Regions from separate parts of the Homo sapiens genome. Here region 2 is linked to region 1. The links are contacts of gene promoters, found by promoter capture Hi-C in blood cells and fetal thymus (Javierre and others, 2016). All regions are on one chromosome and are shown on one strand. Each heading gives the region's core, a stretch centred on a gene start or on the middle of the fragment in contact. The rest is flanking DNA. Distances are from core to core; before and after follow the strand shown.

Region 1 (5,949 bases), core at 1,986-4,485:
ATTATAGAGGCTTTATAGTATGTTTTTTAAATTAATTAATTAATTAATTTTTTAGACAGAGTCTCACTCTGTCAGCCAGGCTGCAATTCAGTGGCACAATCTCGGCTCACTGCAACCTTCATCTCCCAGGCTCAAGCAACTCTCCTGCCTCAGCCTCCCAAGTAGCTGGGATTACAAGCATGTGCCACCACGCTTGCTAATTTTTGTACTTCTAGTAGAGACAGGGTTTCACCATGTTAGCCAGGCTGGTATCAAACCCCCGACTTCAGGTAATTTGCCTGCCTCGGCCTCCCAAATTGCTGGGATTACAGGCGTGAGCCACTGTGCCCGGACTTTATTTTTATTTTAAAATAATGTAATTCTTTGCCTTGCATGAAAACTGTCAATAGTATGTTTTAATATCTGCTGCTCATCATTGCTTTTGTTTTTGTTTTCTTGGTTATTATCAGATGTTTGTTCCTCCACATAAACTTCAGTATCAATGTACTTAACTCCAGAAAAAAACTTTTGGTATTTTTATTGGGAGTATGTTACATTTCTGAATAATCTTGGGGAGAATGTCTGGTATCAGTGCTATTTTACAACGTAGGAAATGTGTTCCTGGCCCATGTGGTAAGATCAGAAAAATAACAACAGAAATACATATTTTTGGCTGGGGCAGTGGCTCATGCCTGTAATCCCAGCTCTTTGGGAGGACCAGGTGGATGGATCACGAGGTCAGGACTTTGAGACCAGCTGGGTCAATATGATGAAACCATGTCTGTATTAAAAATGCAAAAATTAGTTGGGCGCAGTGGCACATGCCTGTAGTCCCAACTACTCAGGAGGCTGAGGCAGAAGAATGGCTTGAACCCAGGAGGCAGAGTTTGCAGTGAGTGAAGATCGCACCACTGCACTCCAGTCTGGGTGGCAGAGCGAAACTATGTCTCAAAAAAACAAAACAAAACAAAACATTTTTTAATTTAAATTTTTTTTATATATATATAGAGAGATGGGGTTTTGCTGTGTAGCCCAGGCTTGTCTTAAACTCCTGGCCTTAAACGATCCTACCATCTTGGCCTGGCAGATATTTTAGGCCAGGAGTTCGAGATCAGCCTGGCCAACCTGGTGAAATCGTTCTCTACTAAAAATACAAAAATTAGCTGGGCGTGGTGGCAGGCGCCTGTAATCCCAGCTACTCCAGAGGCTGAGGCAGGAGAATTGCTTGAACCTGGGAGGTGGAGGTTGCGGTGAGCTGAGATCACACCACTGCACTCCAGCCTGGTCTGATCCAGTGAGATCTGTCGCAAGCAAGCAAGCAAGCAAGAAAGAAAAAGAAAACCCAATGGAATCAGCAGGTTCTAAAAAATAAAGAATGAAGAAAAAAAGGCCTACAGAAACTCTGACTGAATGGAAGGGATAGACCATGCCATTCATTGGCAGCTTTATCAATATGGAAGAATCATGGAAAGGCTCTAGGAACATGAGGAGAGGCATACAAACAAGCTTTATATTTATATCTAAAAAGTAAAGCAGAGGTTCCTCTTCAAAGACGTTCCTTCACATTTAATTAGGAATAAATAGTAACTTCTCTTAGAAGCAAAATTTATTCAAAGACCTGTGCTAACATTCTCAAGTATCTGTGAGCCGTGATAAAGAAATCAATGTACTTTATATTCTTAGCTCCCACAGTTTAGTCTACATATTTGCCCTGGCATGCTTGTACTGGTCCAGGCAAGCATTAGGGCATAGCCTGTTCTTTTTCCTTATTTGAAGATGTTTTGACCCTTCTCAGCATTCCACAAGTTACTTCCTCCTTCCTTTGTTCTCCTCTACCCTTGCCTCTTTTAAAAAGTTATAAGTTGCTAGCCAGAACGTGAGGTCCCATTCCAGCCAGTGGAAACTGGACACAGCAGTAGGTTGGAAGCATCAGGTTATAAATGACCCTATCTCCTTTGTTTGGTGTACTCTCGTGGCAAAACTGCTGGTGAGTATACCGTTTCTGCAGGAAGTAAAAATGGCCTTGCTGAGTAAATTAAATTTATGTTCAAGTGCTAATTTCTTTATGGCACCAGGGAACAAGCATTTTGAACATGTATATTTATATATTTTTTATATATTTATATATTTATATGTATTTATACATATATGTTTATATATATATATATAGAGAGAGAGAGAGAGAGAGAGACAGGGTCTTGCTACTTTGCCCAGGCTGGTCTCAAACTCTTGGACTTGTAGAAAATGAAATAAATACAGGTTCCTCTTCAAAGGGACTTTCCTCCCAGTCTGATTGAAATAAATAGTAATCCCTCTTAGAAGCCAAATTTTCTCAAAGACCTGTGGTAATATTGTTAAATTCTGCCAGCCGTAATAAAGAAATCAATAGACTCTGTTTTTAGCTCCCACATTTTAGCCTAGATATTTGCCCTGGCATGCCTGAACTGGTCCAAGCAACTATTAGGTCATGGCCTATTCCTTTCCCTATTTAGAAGTGTTTTTGCCTCTCTCAACAGTCCACAAGTTACTTCCTCTCTTCCTTTGTTCTCCTCTGCCATTGCCTCTTTTGGGAAGTTCTAAGTTGCTAGCCAATCCAGTGAAGTACAGGAAGGTGAGGTCCCGTTCCAGCCAATGGAAGCTGGACACAGCAGAAGGATGGACACTTCAAGTTTAAAAAAACCCTGTCTCCTTTGTTAATGTGTGCTCTGGTGGCAAGACTGCCAGCCAGTGGCACCCATTCTGCAGAAAGTAAAACTAGCCTTGCTGAGATCCTTTGTCTCAGTGTTGATTTTGTGACACCAAGCGAGCACCCATTCCCAGCAGACTCAAGCTATTTACCTACCTTAGCCTCCCAAAGTGCAGGAATTACAGGCGTGAGCCACTGCGCTCGCCCGATAAAAGCTTTGGAGGAGCATCCCCCGGGGATGCGTCCCATCCCTCATCCCCGCCCTTCCAGCCCGACCGGCCACCTGAACCACCGGCTAGGCCGGGTCCCTCCTCTAAATCACCCCCCGAGTACGAGCCCCTCCCCTCGCCCACAGTTCCGTCTGGAGGCCCGGTTCTAACCTCACCTTTTTCTCTGGACCTAGTTCTGCATCCCCCTCCCTGAGCCAACCCCAGGCCCTTTCTGCACCCACCCGAGAGGAAACTAGAATTTCTGTGTTCTACCCGGTCCTACGTGGCTGAAACTGGAGCCCACGAGCCTCGCCCGGCCAGAGTGTTGAAGCGGAAGTGACGTCAGCGCACCACCGCCATCTTTTCCGGCGCTGGCTCCTCTCCGTCAGTGCGGTTTCGCCTTTATGGTGGTGGAGTCTGCCCAGGCTGTGGTGAGTTCCACCTCCTTGGCGGTCCCGGGGATAGCAGGGGGCGGCAAAGGAATGATTGCGCGCTGTCGCCTAGGAGCCTCTCAGATCCGCTTCACTTCACTCGCTTCTCCAGGGACTATCAGTCCTCCCTGTGCGTCCAGTTCGGAGAGGCTGCGCGCTCTCTCGGCTCACTGCAACCTCTGCAACCTCTGCCTCCAGGGTCAAGCAGTTCTCCTGCCTCAGCCTTCCGAGTACCTGGGATTACAGGCAAGTGCCACCACGCCCGGCTACTTTTTCTATCTTTAGTAGAGATGGTTTTGCCATGTTGGCCAGGCTGGTCTTGAACTCCTGACCTTAGGTGATCTGTCTGCCTCGGTCCCCCAAAGTGCTGGGATTATAGGTGTGAGCCACTGCACCCGGCCGACTTTTGAAAATTTTAGATTTTGTTCTTAAGTCATCTTAGGTACGTAATGAAGTTATCAATAACACACGTGGCTGGTGACTACTGAATTGTTCTGTGCAGGTCTGCACTGTCTTCTGGTCATATGGCGGGGGGGTAACACCATATACAGGAGATCAGGCTCTAGGGACAAGTATCAGACCGACTACTAGGGTTGTTTGAGTGTAGGTTTTTTTCAGTATTAAATAGAAGTAATGGGCCAGGCATCGTGGCTTATGCTTATTATCCCAGCACTTTGGGAGGCCAAGTCAGGAGGATTGTTTGAGCCCAGGAGTTTGAGACTAGCCTAGGCAATCTGGTGAAAACTTGTCTCTACTAAAACTACAAAAAATTAGCCGGACCCAGTGGTGTGCACCTGTAGTCCCAGCTAGTTGGGGGGCTGAAGTGGGAGAATCACTTAAGGCCAGGAGTTCAAGACCAGCCTGGCCAATATGGCGAAACTGCGTCTCTACTAAAAATGCAAAAATTAGCCAGGCATGGTAGTGCATACCTGAAATCCCAGCTACTCGGGAGGCTGAGGCCTGATAATCGCTTGCACCTGGGAGGCAGAGGTTGCAATGAGTTGAGATCATGCCACTGCATTCCAGCCTGGGCAACAGAGTGAGACTCTGTCTCAAAATAATAATAATAATAATGAGTGATGATACGCACCTATGGTCCCAGCTATTCAGGAGGCTGAAGTGGGAGGATCACTTGAGCCCGGGAAGTCTAGGCTACAGAGAGTTGTGTTAGTGCCATTGGATTTCAACCTGGGCAACAGAGTGAGACCCTGTCTCGATAGATAGATAGATAGATAGATAGGATAGATATAGATAGATAGATATAGATAGATATATAGATAGATAGATATAGATAGATAAATATAGATAGATATAGATAGATAGAGGTAATGATAGCTACTGGGAAGGATGGCTATGATAATTAACTGAGCATGTATATATAAAGCTACTAGAGCTACTTCTGACATATCAGTCCTCAGTAAATGTCAGTTACTGTTATTAATACTTTTGTTACTGAGTGACGGTACTGAGTGGGCAATTTTTGGTGGCCTTCACATCTGTCACCTGCAGAGACAAAGCTCAGGCATAATGTTTGATGACTGATGTTTCATGCTTGTTGTTTGATGATTGATATGAACAGGACCGCAAATAACCCTGTACAAAGAGGAATGGAGATTGCCTCTATCCACCTAGATTCATAAGCTGGCCTGAGGTGATCTTGGCATCAAGGAAGGGATGCACATCATCACACCATCAGCTTCAGAGAATGGCAGCCATTTATTTGTCCCGTGGTAAGTCTTTGTTGATGCTCTTTTTCAGAGATTCTGCTTTAGGTCACCCTCCACAACACAAGCGTCCAGTGAGCTGAGCCTGAGCAGGCATGCAGCTGGTTCTTTTAGGAGGAATTGAAGTGAACCACAGAACAGAATGCTGTTTTATTATTTATTTATTTATTTATTTATTTTTGAGACAGAATCTTGTTCCGTCACCCAGGCTGGAGTGCAGTGGTGCAATCTTAGCTCACTGCAACCTTCACCTCCCAGGTTCAAGTGATTCTCTTGCCTCAGCCTCCCAAGTATCTGGGACCACAAGCACATACTGCCAGACCTGGCTAATTTTTGTTTGTTTGTTTGTTTTTGTTTTTGAGACAGAATCTCACTCTGTCTCCCAGGCTGGAGTGCAGTGCCTGTGGTCTCGACTCACTGCAACTTCTGTCTCCTGGGTTCAAGTAATTCTCTGCCTCAGCCTCCCATAATTTTTCTATTTTTAGTAGAGATGGGGTTTCATAATGTTGGCCAGGCTGGTCTCAAATTCCTGACCTCAAGTGATTTGCCCGCCTTGGCCTCCCAAAGTATTGGGATTACAGGCATGAGCCACTGTGCCCAGCCAGAATGCTGTTTTAGAATTCAGCCCTGGTTTGTGTACCTTAGGAAATGCTACATAAGCTTCATGAGTGTTACTACTATGGGCAGATAGAGAGTCACTTTTTTTTTTTTTGAGACGGAGTCTTGCTCTGTCACCCAGGCTAGAGTGCAGTGGCACGATCTCGGCTCACTGCAAGCTCCGCCTCCTGGGTTCACACCATTCTCCTGCCTCAGCCTCCTGAGTAGCTGGGACTATAGATGCCCACCACCACATCTGGCTAATTTTTTGTATTTTTAGTAGAGATGGGGTTTCACCGTGTTAGCTAGGATGGTCTCGTTCT
Region 2 (5,949 bases), core at 909-3,408, 790 kb after region 1:
AAATAAGTAAATACAGTTACATGCAAATAAGTATCCACAAAACAAACATACAAATAACGTAAAGATGTGTAACTGTAGCTAAAGACAGATTTTCTGGTATGCCGTAATGCTAAAAGTTTCTGAATTTTATATAAGTATAGAAAATATTTACATGTATATGTAGTGTTACAAGTCTTCCCACTAACAACTAGCAGGACTACTTAGCAACATTTTTCAGGCCTGTTTGATTTGACTTTTTTTTTTTTTCTTGAGACCAAGTCTCACTCTGTTGGCCAGGTTGGAGTGCAGTGGCGCGATCTTGGCTCATGTCAACCTCCACCTCCCAGACTCAAGCAAATCTCCTGCCTCAGTTTCCTGAGTAGCTGGGACTACAGGCAAGTGCCACCACGCCCAGCTAATTTTGTTTGTATTTTTAGTAGAGACAGGTTTTTGCCATGTTGGCCAGGCTGGTCTTTAACTCCTGACCTCAAGTGGTCCGCCCACCTCAGCCTCCCAAAGTGCTGGGATTACAGGCAAGAGCCACCGCACCCAGCTGTTGATTTGATTTCTAAAGGCATATTGGCCCTCCACCAAACTTCAAAATATAAGGGCATTTGTAAAAAGGATGATTTATTAGTAACAAATTTAAAATTAAATTGACCGGCGACCAGATGTGTTTTGAGTAATGGGATTTTTTTTTTCCTAATGAGATTTGAAAACATTTGGAAGAATATTAAGCAACAACTTATAGATTGAAGGGTAGGGAACTGGTTTCCAAAAAGATTGTCCTCTGCACCTTGCCTCCTGTATTAGTCCTTTTTCACACTGCTATAAAGAACTACCTGAGAGTTTTCACACTGCTATAAATAACTCCCTGAGACTGAGTGACTTACAAAGGAAAGAAGTTTAATTGACTCAGTTCTGCATGGCGGGGGAGGCCTCAGGAAACTTACGATCATGGCAGAAAGCAAAGGGAAAGCAAGGCACGTCTTACATGGCAGCAGGAGAGAGAGAGAAGACATAAACGCCAAACTTCTAAACCATCAGATCTTGTGGGAACTTACTATCAGGAGAACAGCAAGGGGGAAGTCCGCCCCCATGATTCAGTCACCTCCTACCAGGACCCTCCTCTGACACATAGGGATTATTACAACTCGAGATGAGATTTGGGTGGGGGGACACAGAGCCAACGATATCACCTCCTAATAGGAATTAACTTTGTTTCTTAAAACTTCTCTGAAATAACAGTATGGTGATTCATATTGCAGAGAATCATGTTAAGTAATCTAGTATTAAATTGTGGGGTTTCTACTAATTGTGTGTGTGTTCACCTTTTCCATTCTAGCTTTCCTACAGCATTCTTGAAGGAATGTTTACTTATCATGCAATAGATATTATTTGAGTGCACAGTTAATGGTGACCAACCATCCTCATTTTTTCAGGACCAAGGGGTTTGCTAGGGCACAGGGCATCCAGTGTTCAAACCGGGACAATCCTTGGCAAACCAGGTCGCCTCCATGAGTCAGGTCCTAGGTCAGATGCACAGGGACCCTGGAGGACCTGAAATGGCCCCTGTCCTACATAAAGTTTACCTTCTAACAGGGAAGATAAATTTTAAACCATGAATGACAGGAGTGATGTGGGAGCTTGGCACTAGTGAACTTGATCAGAGGGAACAGGGAAGCTTTCTTGGGAAGGATATTTAGCTTGAGAGCTTAAGTTGTTACAGAACCAAACTGGGGTCTGCTCACCTGGTGGTGCAGTGAAACCAGATGTCTATATTGAGGGTTGCTACGATAGATAGAAAGGCTTTTATTGCACAGCACTAAGCAAGGAGGACCAGACATTAAATGTTCAAATCCTGGCCTCCCCAGTGGCTTTTAGGCAAGGAATTTTTTTTTTTTTGAGATGGAGTCTCACTCTGTTACCCAGGCTGGAGTACTGTGTTGCAATCTCAGCTCACTGCAACCCCCGGCCTCCCGGGTTCAAGCAGTTCTGCCGCAGCCTCCTGAGTAGCTGGGATTACAGGCGCCTACCACCATGCCCGGTTAATTTTTGTATTTTCAGTAGAGACGGGGTTTCACCATGTTGGCCCGGCTGGTCTTAATCTCCTGACTTCGTGATCCACCCGCCTCAGCCTCCCAAAGTGCTGAGATGATACAGGCATGAGCCACCACACCCGGCCTTTTTTTTTTTTTTAATGAGACAGAATCTCACTTGGTCACCCAGGCTGGAGTGCAATGGCACGATCTCAGCTCACTGCAACGTCTGCCTCCCAGGTTCAAGTGATTTTCCTGCCTCAGCCTCCCCAGTCCCTAGGATTACAGGCACATACCACCACACCTGGCAAATTTTTTGTATTTTGAGTAGAGACAGAGTTTCACCATGTTAGCCAGGTTGGCCTCAAACTCCTGACCTCAGGTGATCCGCCTGCCTAGGCCTCCCAAAGTGCTGGGATTACAGACATGAGCCACCGTGCCCGGCTAGGCAAGGATTTCTGAAGGCAATGGTAAGTTACAGAAAAGCAGAAGCTACAGGCAAAATCATAAAGCAATACATGGAGGTTACACACTGGTTTAGACTTAAAAGGGCAAGGATGTCTTGAAGCAGGAGCTTGTCATAGGTAGATTCAAAGATTTTTCTGATTTGTAATTGGTTAAAGAAAAGAAGCTTTGTTTAAAAATTTAGAGTCAGTAGGAAAATGTTAACTGGCTGGGAGAAGTGACTTTCTCCAAGCCCCTCAAGAAGAAACTTAGCACAAAGAACGCTGAAGCTCAGCCTTCATGTCCCGCTTATCTGGGGTCTCTGAGCCAGCAGCTCCATTTGGTGGGGTCCTCAGTGGGAGTCCCAGCCTCTGAAAGGCAACTCAGGGACGCATGTTAAGATGTTATCTTTAGTTTCCATGGGGAAAGCGAACATCTCTGGAGCCTTAACTTCTTTGGCTGTTGTTTTAGGTTACTATTACCTTCCTGTTTAACAAGTTCCATATTTACTTTTGGGGCTAGCTGGATGCTCGGAATTTCCCTTAAAGGAACTTCAGGATTTTCCTTTATTTTCCCACTTGGGGTTCACAGGCCCCTGAAAAAGGGAATTGCTGCTCCATCTCCAAGTTGGGGTCAGATGTAGCTAGTCATAGGGCTCGACTAGAGTGAGGGGACAGGGTTATGTCCAAGAGAGCACTGCCGTCGAAGAAGCTGTGTAAGGAAAGGCCCTGCAGCAGGAGAGAGGCTGCCACGCTCCCTGCACTGGGAACACAGGGATGGCTGAAGCCGAGACAAGAACAGGGAAAGAAGCTGGGCGCAGTGGCTCACACCTGTAATCCCAGCACTTTAGGAGACCAAGGTGGGCTGATCACCTGATGTCAGAAGTTCAAGACCAGCCTGGCCAACATGGTGAAACCCCGTCTCTACTAAAAATACGAAAATTAGCTGGGTGTGGTGGTGCACACCTGTAGTCCCAGCTGCTCGGGAGGCTGAGACAAGAGAATTGCTTGAACCTGGGAGGCTGAGGTTGCAGTGAGCAGAGATTGCACCACTGCATTCAGCCTGGGTGTAAGAGTGAGACTCCTCAAAAAAAAAAAAAAAAAAAAAAAAGAATAGGGAAAGAAGTGTGACCAAGACCAAGATCAAGAGGGAGGCAGAACCATACTAGGCCTCACTTCAGACTCTGTTCTCAGGCCAGTGGGAAGACACTAAAGAGTTGTGGGCCAGAGGGTGATGCAATTTGCATGTAGTGTAAGCATGCAGATAACAAGGACTTCAGGATTCAGAAGGAAGACATTTAAGAGGCAAAAGAGGGGGTGTTTGGAGGTAGTTTAGGAATCAGATGATTGCTCCCAAAAAAAATAAAATTTATTTTCTCAGCCATACTAGTCACATTTCAAGTATTAGAGCAGAATTATAGAACATTTCCATCATCACCAGAAGTTGTGTTGGGCAGCTGACATAGAGTGGCCCATCTGCTGTGACCATCCTCCAGCACTGTATCCAGGGCAGGGCAGGTGTCACAGGATCTGTAAACTGAAGAGACCCCTCCTGTCCTAGTGGGAAATTTCTGCTTCCAGACAGCCTTGAATAGGGACTTGGGGCCTGAAAATGTCCCAGGTACCTTCTCTACTTGTTTTTTTCTTGGAGGCCCAGTGAGCTGGCTGGAGGCCAACCCCCCCTCACTCCCCAGCTCAGTGACTGGAACTACTGTGTGCCTACCTGCACATTAGGTCTGTTACGGGGAAAAAGGAGATACTTCCCCCTGTAGAGGGTAGGGAAGTTCTGCAGCAGTTGCCTGGGTCTGCTGAACTCACCCAAAGGGAAGGTGTGATGTGAAAGGCATGTTAGTTTCCTATTGATGCTATAACAAACTACCACAAATTCAGGGACTTAAAACAACACACATTTATCCTCTTGCCTTGCTGGAGGTCAGAAATCCTCAATAAGCTGGAAGGCCTGCATTCCCTCTAGAGCAGGAGTCCCCAGCCCCTGGGCCACGGACCAGTGCTTATAAACAGGGCTGCACAGCAAGATGTGAGTGGCAGGTGAGCGAAGCTTCATCTGTATTTACAGCCACTCCTCATTGCTCGCATTACCACCTGAGCTCCACCTCCTGGCCGATCAGTGGCAGCATTCGATTCTCATAGGAGCCCAAACCCTATTGTGAACTTTGCATGTGAGGGATCTGGATTGCACACTCCTTAGGAGAATCTAATTCCTGATGATCTGTTGCTGTCTCCCATCACCCCCAGATGGGACCATCTAGTTGCAGGAAAACAAGCTCAGGGCTCCCACTGACTCTATATTATGGTGAGTCGTATAATTATTTCATTATATATTACTGTGTAATATAATAGAAATAAAGTGCAGAATAAATGTAATGTGCTTATAAAACATCATCCTGAAACCATTCCCTGCCCAGCCCCACTGCCGCCCCGTGCTCCATGGAAAAATTGTCTTCCACGAAACCAGTCCCTGGTACCAGAAAGGTTGGGGACCACTGCTCTAGAGGCTCTAGGGGAGAACCCATTTCCTGCGTTTTTCATCTTGTAGAGGCCACCAGCCTTCCCTGACTGTGGCTTGTTCCTCCATCATCAACACCAGCAGGGCAGCATCTTCCAGTCTCTCTGTATGTTATCTCCTCCCTGCTACACACACGCTCCCTTCTTCTCTCATCTCATCCCATCCTTCTTTGAACTGACCCTCCTGTTTCCCTTTTATAAGGACCCCTGTAATCACAGTGGGCCCACCCAGCATCATCCCCCATGTCAGGATCCTTGCCTTCCTCACAGCTGCAGAATCCCTTTTGCCATGTAAGGGAGTAGATCCAGAGGTTCTGGGGATTAGAACACAGACCCCTTTCTTGGGAGAGCAGGAAGTTAATCATCTGTCTACCACAGAGGCCCAAGAGCCAAAGACTCCCTCCAACTTGATTTTTTGACGGAACCCGAACTCACCCTGAATGTCCAGTGCCCCCATCCCTGCCCATTCACACCCTTCACTCCTTTTATCTTTTGGGTTCATGTCATGGAGGTCACACATGGAAACCTCCAGAAGCTGGCTTTATGGAGTTACGTTTTATTCTATAAATCTGGAGAAAGGAGGCTTTCTCGTCTTATAAAAAGGACACATGACATTGCTTTGTACCTTGATTTTTTTTTCACTTAAATTTATTGGAGATAATCTCTCTGAATACCTAGAAATCTTTTCAGGGGTTCTTTGTTTTGGTTTTGGTTTGGGGTTTTTTTTTCCTGGCTACATGTTTCTTTGTTATTTATTAAGTTGCTGCAAAAGTAATTGCAGGTTTTGCCATCGAAAGTAATGGCAAAAACCGCAATCACTTTTGCACCAACCTTAAAGCTATCACATAGTTTATTCACCCAATCCCCTACTGATGGTCACTTGTGGTGTTTTCAATCCTCTGCGATTATATGAAGTGCCACAGCGAATCATCTTACACGTGTCTTTCAGTATTTGTGTACCT

The links. Contacts are between HindIII fragments. The CHiCAGO score rates a contact against its expected background, and 5 or more counts as called.
Region 2: a contact is called between a fragment that was not itself captured here and the fragment with the promoter of ZNF561 in region 1, in 1 of 17 cell types (total B cells). The highest score is 5.6, in total B cells.

What each region holds. Positions count from the first base shown.
Region 1 is chr19:9,618,518-9,624,466 of GRCh38, reverse strand. ZNF561 (zinc finger protein 561) reads left to right here and starts at 3,235. Exons shown (of 6, transcript NM_152289.3): 1 at 3,235-3,305; 2 at 4,885-5,035. The coding sequence starts at 5,011. ZNF561-AS1 (ZNF561 antisense RNA 1) reads right to left here and starts at 2,985. Exons shown (of 4, transcript NR_122038.1): 1 at 2,822-2,985. RefSeq lists enhancers at 2,906-3,325, 3,474-4,056. The HindIII fragment of the contact is 2,809 bases long and covers 2,883-5,691 here.
Region 2 is chr19:8,825,195-8,831,143 of GRCh38, reverse strand. The region is part of intron 2 of ZNF558 (zinc finger protein 558); the gene reads left to right. Among named protein-coding and RNA genes, the nearest start is that of ZNF558, 4.1 kb to the left of the region's middle. The HindIII fragment of the contact is 986 bases long and covers 1,666-2,651 here.